Regions from separate parts of the Homo sapiens genome. Here regions 1 and 3 are each linked to region 2. Evidence: promoter capture Hi-C in 16 types of primary human blood cells and fetal thymus (Javierre and others, 2016). All regions are on one chromosome and are shown on one strand. The core of a region is centred on a gene start or on the middle of the fragment in contact, and the rest is flanking DNA. Distances in the headings are between cores, read along the strand shown. Region 1 overlaps CR2 (complement C3d receptor 2). Region 2 holds the start of IL24 (interleukin 24). Region 3 overlaps CR1 (complement C3b/C4b receptor 1 (Knops blood group)).

Evidence for each region. The method cuts DNA at HindIII sites, captures the fragments that hold promoters and counts their contacts. A CHiCAGO score of 5 or more calls a contact.
Region 1: a contact is called between a fragment that was not itself captured here and the fragment with the promoter of IL24 in region 2, in 1 of 17 cell types (endothelial precursors). The highest score is 5.1, in endothelial precursors.
Region 3: a contact is called between a fragment that was not itself captured here and the fragment with the promoter of IL24 in region 2, in 2 of 17 cell types (naive B cells and endothelial precursors). The highest score is 6.1, in naive B cells.

What each region holds. Positions count from the first base shown.
Region 1 is chr1:207,466,559-207,469,718 of GRCh38, reverse strand. It overlaps CR2 (complement C3d receptor 2), which reads right to left. Exons shown (of 20, transcript NM_001006658.3): 2 at 2,807-3,160; 3 at 1,004-1,192; 4 at 820-919; 5 at 487-569; 6 at 1-24. Among named protein-coding and RNA genes, the nearest start is that of CR2, 14 kb to the right of the region's middle. RefSeq lists an enhancer at 1-442. The HindIII fragment of the contact is 262 bases long and covers 1,477-1,738 here.
Region 2 is chr1:206,895,792-206,899,049 of GRCh38, reverse strand. IL24 (interleukin 24) reads right to left here and starts at 1,607. Exons shown (of 7, transcript NM_006850.3): 1 at 1,435-1,607; 2 at 1,174-1,319. The coding sequence starts at 1,217. LOC105372879 (a long non-coding RNA gene) reads left to right here and starts at 2,932. Exons shown (of 2, transcript XR_007066836.1): 1 at 2,932-3,056. The HindIII fragment of the contact is 4,835 bases long and covers 1-3,258 here.
Region 3 is chr1:207,500,076-207,503,064 of GRCh38, reverse strand. All of the region lies in intron 1 of CR1 (complement C3b/C4b receptor 1 (Knops blood group)), which reads right to left. Among named protein-coding and RNA genes, the nearest start is that of CR1, 5.4 kb to the right of the region's middle. The HindIII fragment of the contact is 195 bases long and covers 1,333-1,527 here.

The DNA.
Region 1 (3,160 bases), core at 358-2,857, 570 kb before region 2:
GGGGAGGTGATGGGCAAAAAATTTCTAGGGGAATTGCAGAAAGAAATGACAAGATCATAGGTGTATTGAAAACAAAGAATGCCCCAGATGCTGCTTGATACCACTATCCTAGGACAGTGATATCCGAGTCTATAATGAATCAGTCAAGGCAGCTAAAGCAACATAATTTAGAAGATTGATTCTCAAGCTTCATTCCTGAGTATATGTACTCTGCTGATCCTTTGATTTCTTTTACCAAATACACTATTTTCTTTATGCATATGGTCTACCTACTTAGAAGGTCTGCATAGCTTTCAGAGGAGGGAAAGCCTAGGAACCCCATTTTACTTGAGGAAACAAAAAATAAGGATGCTTTGGTGAAGCACATATCCTTAAAGATCTCTAGGAGTTCTGTGTTCAGTAAGAGTCTGTAAGGTAATGACTGAACCAAAAGCTTTTAGTTAAGCTGAGAATGCAGTGCTGTCAGACCATAGTTGCCTAGCCTACCTTCACATACTGGCATTTTGGTCCAAGCAACTCCCTGTCCAGCAATTACACACCGACTAGAAGGTGGGCCTTGCAGTCGATACCTGGAGACAGAAGGTTGTCATTCAGAACTATTAGGCAGTTTGTGCTGAAGAACAGCAGCCTCTACTTACAATTCAAGACAAGTTCATTTCAATCAGTGTGCATCTGTTCCTTTTATCAGCATTACCTCTCACAACCCTACCCCAGACTGCCCAGAGATCCTCACAGAGGAGACTTCTGCAGGTTTCACAGTCCACACCACGCACACACAAGACAAATGAATTAAATCTCATAAATAATCCTGACACTCACCCTTCATCACAGAAAAAGTTTGCAGTTACACCAACCCGGAGAATTGGAGGCTCCTTTACCTTCCCATTGGGAAATCGTCCTAGAGATTTACAGCGTGCCTCTAAAAAACAAACCAAAGATGAGAAATGCATGGCAAATAACAGAACAGCCCAGATTCTTAAAATAGATTGTAAATTTAGGGTACCTTCACATGTGGGGGGGACAGCACTCCATTTTCCCGAAGACAAACAGTTAATGATCTTTTCTCCAACAAGCAAGTAACCAGATTCACAGCTGTAAGTCACAGACAATCCTGGAGCAATGGAGCCAACATTCTCACTTGTGTGATGTCCATTGTGGATCATAGGAAGTGCTGGACACTCGAGAGGGAAAACTTTACACACACATACCAGGAAAAAAAAGCCGTCAGATGATGCATCCTTCACAATCTAGAATCAAGGGGGTCCAATCTTTTGGCTTCCCTGGGCAACATTGGAAGAAGAAAAATTGTCTTGGGCCACACATAATATACGCTAACACTAATGATAGCTGATAAGCTAAAAAAATTGCAAAAAAAAAATCTCATAATGGTTTAAGAAAGTTTATGAATTTCTGTTGGGCCACATTCAAAGCCATCCTGGGCCACATGCTGTCCACGGGTAGCGAGTTGGACAAGCTTGATCGAGATGCTGACTTAGGATATGGATTTAAATAAATGACACATGATCTATGGTAGCCAGTTGGTATTAACTTTCAACCTAGTCTTTTAAAGATCAAACAGGTGTGGTTTAAGTGTATCCATTTTATGCCACAAATAGCCATAAATAGTACCTTATTTTTCATTTTTAGTTACACTATATGAATTACATTTGCCTTGTGAAAAATTTCAATTACCAAAAAAAGTCAATTTTCACCTATATTCTCACCCTATCCTTAAGCTTATTCTCTGTTCCAAAAGTAGCATGCTATCATTTCAAGGGCTATCCTGGTAGATATTGGCAATATAGTTTATTGGGATCCTATGCATGATACATATATACACCTATATTATGTGTGTGTGTACAACTAATACATATTCTATGCCTTACTTCCTCTACTTAGCGACATGTATACGATATCCTTCCATGTCCATACATATATGTCTGTCTAAATTGTTACAAAGGCTTAACTGTTTTCAGCAGCCATTGCCCTTTGTAACTATCGTTAAGATCTCCTTCCTCCAAGGCTATTTATCAATCAATCAATCAATAAACAGAATCCCATTTTATACTAATTTAACAGTTTTGTCAGCTCTTTAATCTGCTTAAAATTTGTCAATATTGTTCTTTATTAAGAAAATACCTAATTTGATAGTATAATTTTTGTCAAATATTGCCATTTCTTGTAATTGTGGAATTCAAATTCAGATTTATATTTCAGCAGCAACATAAACCAAACCAAAAGAGAAGGAATGAATAATTTACAGTAGGTCCCTATTTTCAAAGGCATTTATTTGAAATGTGATGGCTCAGAAGATGACTTGGGGAAATAGTGGATAACTTCAAAACATGTTTACAGAGACCACAGAGAGCAGGATATCACCTGTGCTAGACTGTGTTAGCAGCTACTTATACATTAATTTCAAATCCATTGGGTGTATTTTTGCTATAAGATCCCACCGTTCTTCTCATTTTAACAGTAACACAGATATACAGTTGAAAACCACCCCATTCCCACATCCCCAACAAACTCTGACCCCATCCTTGCAAAACTTACCCTACTCAATTATTAGGTGTGTTTAATTACATTTTTCCATGTACTTTAAACTCCTTTGCTCAATTGATGTTTTTTGAACGAGCAGTTATATGCCTCCACGAAGAAGCCATAACTTTCACCTTTTCCCTTGTTTCCTTCTTCCACCCTCATCATTACATGTTCACACTGTTTGTCCTTCAGGAGGGTACAAAACGTGGTCTGCACAGAAAGGCAAGACCCCAACCTCCCAACCCAGCTTTCTTTTCATACTCACCACTTACACAGGTTGGTAGTCGTGTCGGCCCCCACATATTATTTGCTTGACACCAAACAGACTTGTTTCCGTTCATGGAGAAGTTGGTTTTACAGGCAAATGTCACAGAATCACCATGTCTGTAGGGTGTAGAGCCTCTAATTTTGTATCCTCCTGGTACTATGGGCTCAGGGCAAGAAGAATATTTATTGAAATATTCACATTTAGGAGCAGGTTTATCCCAGGTTCCATCCACTTTGTCTTTAGTTATGCATAATAGACTTTTTTCTCCAATGAGGCGGAAGGTACCTGAACAACTGTACCTTATCACGGTACCAACAGCAATGGGGGTAGAATAATAACTAATCCGGCCAT
Region 2 (3,258 bases), core at 358-2,857:
TCCTTCTCCATCGCAGTTCTCTCTAGCCTACAACCTGCGAGTCAGAATTTGACCCAGAAGAGTGGAGAAATGGGAGGTTCTAATGTGCCACGTCTGGGGAGCCCAAACCCAGGAAAACAAAGAGCTGAACTAGACATGTGCTTATCCAAGTTCTGCCCTGAAGCCACTAGGCACACATAGGCTGGCAGGTCTTTTTCTCCTCCCCAGGAGACGGCTGTCCCTCACTCCTCATCACAAGGGAGCAAGGGGTTAATCCTGGTCCCAGGGAGGGGCACAGAGGGCAGGTCAGGGTCACACACAGACTATGCCACCTCCACTAACCACTCACTCTTGAGTCTAAAAATTCACTTTTTTTAGTAACCAAATGAGAGAGAGGCATCAGATTTCCAGATGAATCATCTCTAAAGCCTTCCTCTGAAGTGCCAGTTGGGAAGGACTGAGTGAAGAGCCTCCAAGCTGGGGAACCTAACGCCATTATGTATTTATTATAACTGATGCAGAGAATTTCTTTCCCCCTGCCTTCTTTGCCCTTTGTCCTTTCCCTCCCTCTCTCCCTCCCTCCCTCCTTACCTTTCTTTCTTCCTTCTTTCCTCTCTCGCTCCCTCCCTTTCTTACTTTCTCCCTTTCTTTCGTACTTCTTTACACAATCATTTAAGAACCTTTCTTACTGCAGGCACTGGTCTGACACCTAAAGAAACTGCCTCCCACCCCTACACCGGGAGGAAGACCAGAGAAGACCCGGTTCTGCTGGTACCTGGGCTAGGGAGGCGGCGACCCCTGGGTTATGGGTCACGGGGGACGGGGGCTATGCTTTAGCATCTCCCTCAATGTCTTTTCATTCTGTTCTTTCAAACTCCACAGGCTTTTTTTTTTTTTTTTTTTTTTGACAGAATTTCAGTCTGTCACCCAGGCTGGAGTGCAGTGGCATGATCTCGGCTCACTGCAACCTCTGCCTACCAGGTTCAAGTGATGCTCATGCCTCAGTCGCCCAAGTAGCTGGGATTTTTGTATCTGAAAATATCAAAAACACATGCCCAACTAATTTTTTTTTGTATTTTTAGTAGAGACAGGGTTTCACCATGTTGGCCAGGCTGGTCTCGAACTCCTGACCTTAAATGATCTGCCCACCTCAGCCTCCCAAAGTTCTGGGATTACAGGTGTGAGCCACCGCACCTGGCTAAAGTCCACAGGCTTTGCAGCCTCTGTTGAAAATTCATCTCTCAGTCTCGTGTTCCTCCTGGCCTTCCTCCCAAGCAGCCTCAATTCTTCTTGGTGTTAAATTGGCGAAAGCAGCTCCTCATCACAGTCATGTCTTGTCCCTACATCAACACTCAAAAAAATTGACTTCTGCTGTCCCCACCTTGACCCCTTTTCACAAATAAAGCAGAGGTCTAGTCCTTCAAAAAAAAGTAACCAAGAATCCCCCATGCTCACCTCTGGTCCTGTAAGTGATGCTTGAGGGCTGGCTGCCTGGAGGCAGCTGGTTCTTTTTACAGAAAAGTTAGACAGGCACCTTCACCATTCACCAATCAGAGGCATAGCTGTGGGTGGAAGGTTCCCGTCCCAGCCGTGGAAGTCATTTCAGAAGTAAAGGTTTGCAGGCAAGCAAGGCTTTGTGGAGATTTGGGCATATATATGGGGGCTGATGGGGGAGGGGTGGAGGAAAAAGAGGGAGGTGGAGAAAGGGAAATTGGTCATGCTTTCCTAGAGAATTACTTCATTGCCTAGTCACCCATCACTTTAAGGACAATACAGCGATGGGGAAAGCAGCCCCTGAGGTGAGATGAGACCTGGGTTTGAGTTCAGGCTCTACCACTGGCTGTGTGGGCAGGGGCAAGTCTCTTAGCTTCTCTGCGCTGCAGTCTCTGCATGTATAAATTTTTAAAAAATTTGTCCCACCTCCCCCCAAGGGCAAGTGTAATAAACAGAGGCAAAAACAACACAGAGGTGCTTGGTAAACTCTGTACACATGTAAATACATTATTACTGTGCAGCATACACCAGTCTCCTTCCTGTCAAAATAATTCAATAATGATGCCCTATTCATGCTGGGACAGTAGTCCACAGCGAAGAAATAACCTGTAAGTACCTCTCCTTTAATCCATCAGGGCCAGGAAGTTGAGGAGTGTTTCCTGACATGCAGCTACCCATGGTCCCTAGGGTTATAATCACTCAACCAAAATGTGCCTCTCCTTAGGTTCTGGAAACCAGGAAGAATAAGGAAATGTACGCATGGACAAGCCCAGAAAGCTGGGAGGCCTGGTGCTCTGGTGGGCTAGTCTTGGCCTGTGTGGCTCTGAACCACTCAGGGGACACAGACAGCGTGATGTGTCAAGACTGCCAGGGCAGTCAAGAGCTCTGACCCTATCTCCAGCTAGCAAGGCACTCAGCTCTAGATTCTACCATGTGCCCAGTGAGGGCATCAAGCAGAGCAGTGTTTCCCAAAGCACAGTCCTCAGACTCTAGGTTTGAGGAATTCTTGTCTTGCAAGATCCTCCATGAAACAGATGAATCCTAATGAGGTCAGTTAGAGAGCCCTGGCATGTGCTAGCCCGTCCTGGAAATGTCTGATGCTTCTTAACTCTGTTTAATCCAGCATTTCCCATAAGTATTTGCCCACATCCCTGAGGAATACATTTTGGGAATCAGGGATTGGCCAACTGTAGGTCACAAGCCAAATCCAGCCTGCCACTGCTAAGCTGAGAATGGCTTAACCTTGCGACCTAAGAGTAGTTTTTACGTTTTTTAATGATTGGGGAAAAAATCAAAAGAAAGACATTATTTTCAGGTTTCCGTATCCATAATAAATAAAGTTTTCATGGGGTCACATATGTTTGTTGACATATTGTTGCTAATTGCTTTCGTGCTACAGAGGCAGAGATGAGTAGTTGTGACTGAGACCATATGGCACACAGAGCCTAAAATAGTTCCTGTCTGGTTCTTTACAGGAAGAGTTTGCCCAACCTGGGTCCAGGCATGGGAAACGGGAGTAGGAATGTGACGTGGGGGACAGGATAACTGCCTCCAGCTCAGTGGAGATGAAAGAAAAGAGGAGAGTGAGTAGAACACACCCTTGGCAGACTCTTCCCAATCTCTCTGGCACCAACACCCCCTCCCTCCATCTCATACTCAGTGTTGTTTATTTTCTTAAGCAAACAAAATACTCCTTTGCAATCCCTGGCCAGCAGTCTGCTTGGCTATAGCTGCCACCAGCCTGAATCCTTTGTTCCTGGAGGGCCCGAGTCTTACCCTCCAGAA
Region 3 (2,989 bases), core at 181-2,680, 600 kb before region 2:
TAAATTCGATTATTCCGCTAAAGTGGGAGTGCTTGCTTTGCTTCCAAGAGTTCATTTTCTGCTCCTTTGCAGAACTAGCTTGGAATGAGCCTATGCTGTCGGGAATGCACTGGATGACCTCAGTGACTGGTGACCTCAGCTCTCCTGAGTGAATGTGCCCCGGATTCAGCCTGGGACTTCTCATCTGCATCTCATGAGCTCCATCATAGTGCCCACGGGACCCCGGACAGAGAGGAGAATTCCTAAGGTTGCCTTTTCCCTGTTGTCAATGGCTTTAGTCAGAATTGGAAGCCTAACTCTGTGCTTTCTACTGAAGCAAAGGATGATGCTCCAAGAAAGCTCATATTTCTTACTTATTTTTCCCAGACAGCCTGTATCCATCATCACACATTTGCTTTATTAAGCCAGCAGTTGTTAAGCAAGGAAGCCCTTGTCTATGTTCCCTGCCTCATCTTGTGCCACTTGGTCCCCTCACCAAGGTGTGGCCCTTTCCCCTTTTTCAGTTTCCCAAAGACACACATTTTTCCCGTCTATGACATTCCTTCTATGTGACGCAATTTTATCTTCACTCTGACTTCAATTCTTCCTTCAGGCATCTGCTAAAATGTCACTTTCTTATAGAAGCCTTCCCCAGCCTGCCTATGGCCATACCACCCTGAACACACCCAATCTCATCTGAAGCCTTCCCTGACCCTCTTAGGGATTTGGAATCTAAACTACTTCCCTCTGCCCCACCCTATAATAATTTCTAGTCCGACACTTTGCTTTTCCTTTCATATCAATAATTGTTTGTTATTACAATTTGTGCTTTTTATCTTTGTGTGCTTTTAGAAGTATCTATTTCTCTCAATAGATATTAGATATGCATAATTTAAAGGCAAGAGATGATGTGTTTTTTTGTACCTCTAAATTAATACTTAGTCCTGGTGCTTAACACTCAATTATAAGAACTCAATGCATATTTGTTGCAATGAACAAAAAATGAAGAATTACTTATAAAACTCAAAAAAATCAAGAATCCAAGCTATGTCCCCCAAATCTCTGATTTAGTGGGTCTAGGTTAGGGCCCAGGAGTCTATTTTTAAAAATTTTCACAGCTGATTTTGATAGATAACAGCACTTTGAGGATACTGTAAAAAAAAAAAACACTGAGTAAAACAGTTGCTGTTATTTTCAGTGTTATGCATTCACCTTTCCTCTAGTTGATATGTGGGATGAAATACAATTTTGATATTTGTCTTATCCATTGATGCCGGACAAAGGAAGAGATTCCATGTGAAGTGCCTAGCGCCAAAAGCTGTATTGAGAGAGGGTAAATGTCACAGCAAAGCTTGCAACGAGAGGAAGGAATGAGACCTAAAGTAACAAAGCAAATTGAATGAACCATTCTTGGAAAGAAGTTCCTTCCCCTTAATTACATAATATTCTTACCTGCATAGTAGTATATGAATAGTATAGGTAATTATAAAAAGCAAAGTTGTATAATAGCTCAAAAAAGGAATATATGAGCCTTCAACAAAGAAAGCTTGATGTAGTTTCCTTTCTCTCCTTTATTACCAATCCCTCAATTGTGACTAGTTCCTATGACAAATATATTAATATAAAATCCACAAACTGAAGACCTACCATAATTTTAAAAGTTTTTATAGCTTTATCAAGATATATTACATACAATGATTGATGAGTATTTGAAGTGTACAATTCGATTACTTATAACATATGTATGCGTTGTGAAACCATCACCAAAATGAAGACAATAAACGTTTCCATCATACATCCCACCCACACAGAGTTCCCTCATGCCCTTCTGTAATCCATCCAAACATCCACTTCCTTCTCTAGGCAACCTTCAATGTGTTTTCTCTTACTACAGATTGATCTGACTTTCTAAAATTTCATATAACCCGAATCACTTCGTTTATATCCTATCATATAAAGGAAATAACTCAGGTGGTTTTCTCTTACTACAGATTGATTTGACTTTCTAAAATTTCATATAACCTAAATCACTTCATTTATATCCTATTGTATAAAGGAAATCACTCAGGTTTTTTTTTATGGTTTAGCCTTCACACAGCATAATTAGAGATCCATCTAGGTTGCTGCATGTATACAAATTGTTTCCTTTAGTTGCTGGGTAATATTCAATTGCATAAATATATCTTAATTTAGTTTATCCATTTACTTGTTGAGGGACATTTGGATTGTTTCCACGTGTTGGCTATTACAAACAAAACTGCTATGAAAATTCATGTACAAGTCTTTGTGTGGACATATGATTTCATTTCTCTTGGGTAAAAACCTAAGAGTAAAATGTTGAGTGTGTGTCTAAGGTTTTAAGAATCTGTTGAACTATTTTCTAAAGTTAATGTTATAATTTTACCTGCCAAATAGCAGTATATTATAATTCCAGTTACTCCACCTTATCGCCAACACTTGGCTCGGTCAATCTTTTTCATTTTAGTCATTCTAGTGGGTATGTATTGTTATCTCATTTCGGGTTTTGTCTTGTATGACTCAGCCCACTTTCACATTCTCCTGGTTCAGATATTCCATTCAAAGCAAGTTGATGTATTCTGTGCTATATGCACAATTAACACATCATCACTTTCATGTCTGTTGCAATATGAGCTGTCAACCCAAAGAACACTCTGCTTTCCATTCTGCATACTTACCCTTTAAGGAATAGATTTGCACTTGCTTTGCTTAGGCACCTCTATCAGTTTAAAAAAAGAGCATGCCCTTTCAAATATATAAATTTATAAATTATATATGTACACGAACATAAATTATATGCCTCAATATAAATTTTTGAAATGTAACACAGATAAAATAAATATTTTAAATGCTTTGTTAATCATCATGACTTAGCACAATCATTAGCTAACATCTAACGGGACAAAAAACAGTCACATTGAGTCTCTCTGTTCACAATAGTGAATGTAAAGCTTATTTCGACAGTCTTCATGATACTTTCTAGGTTTTTTGG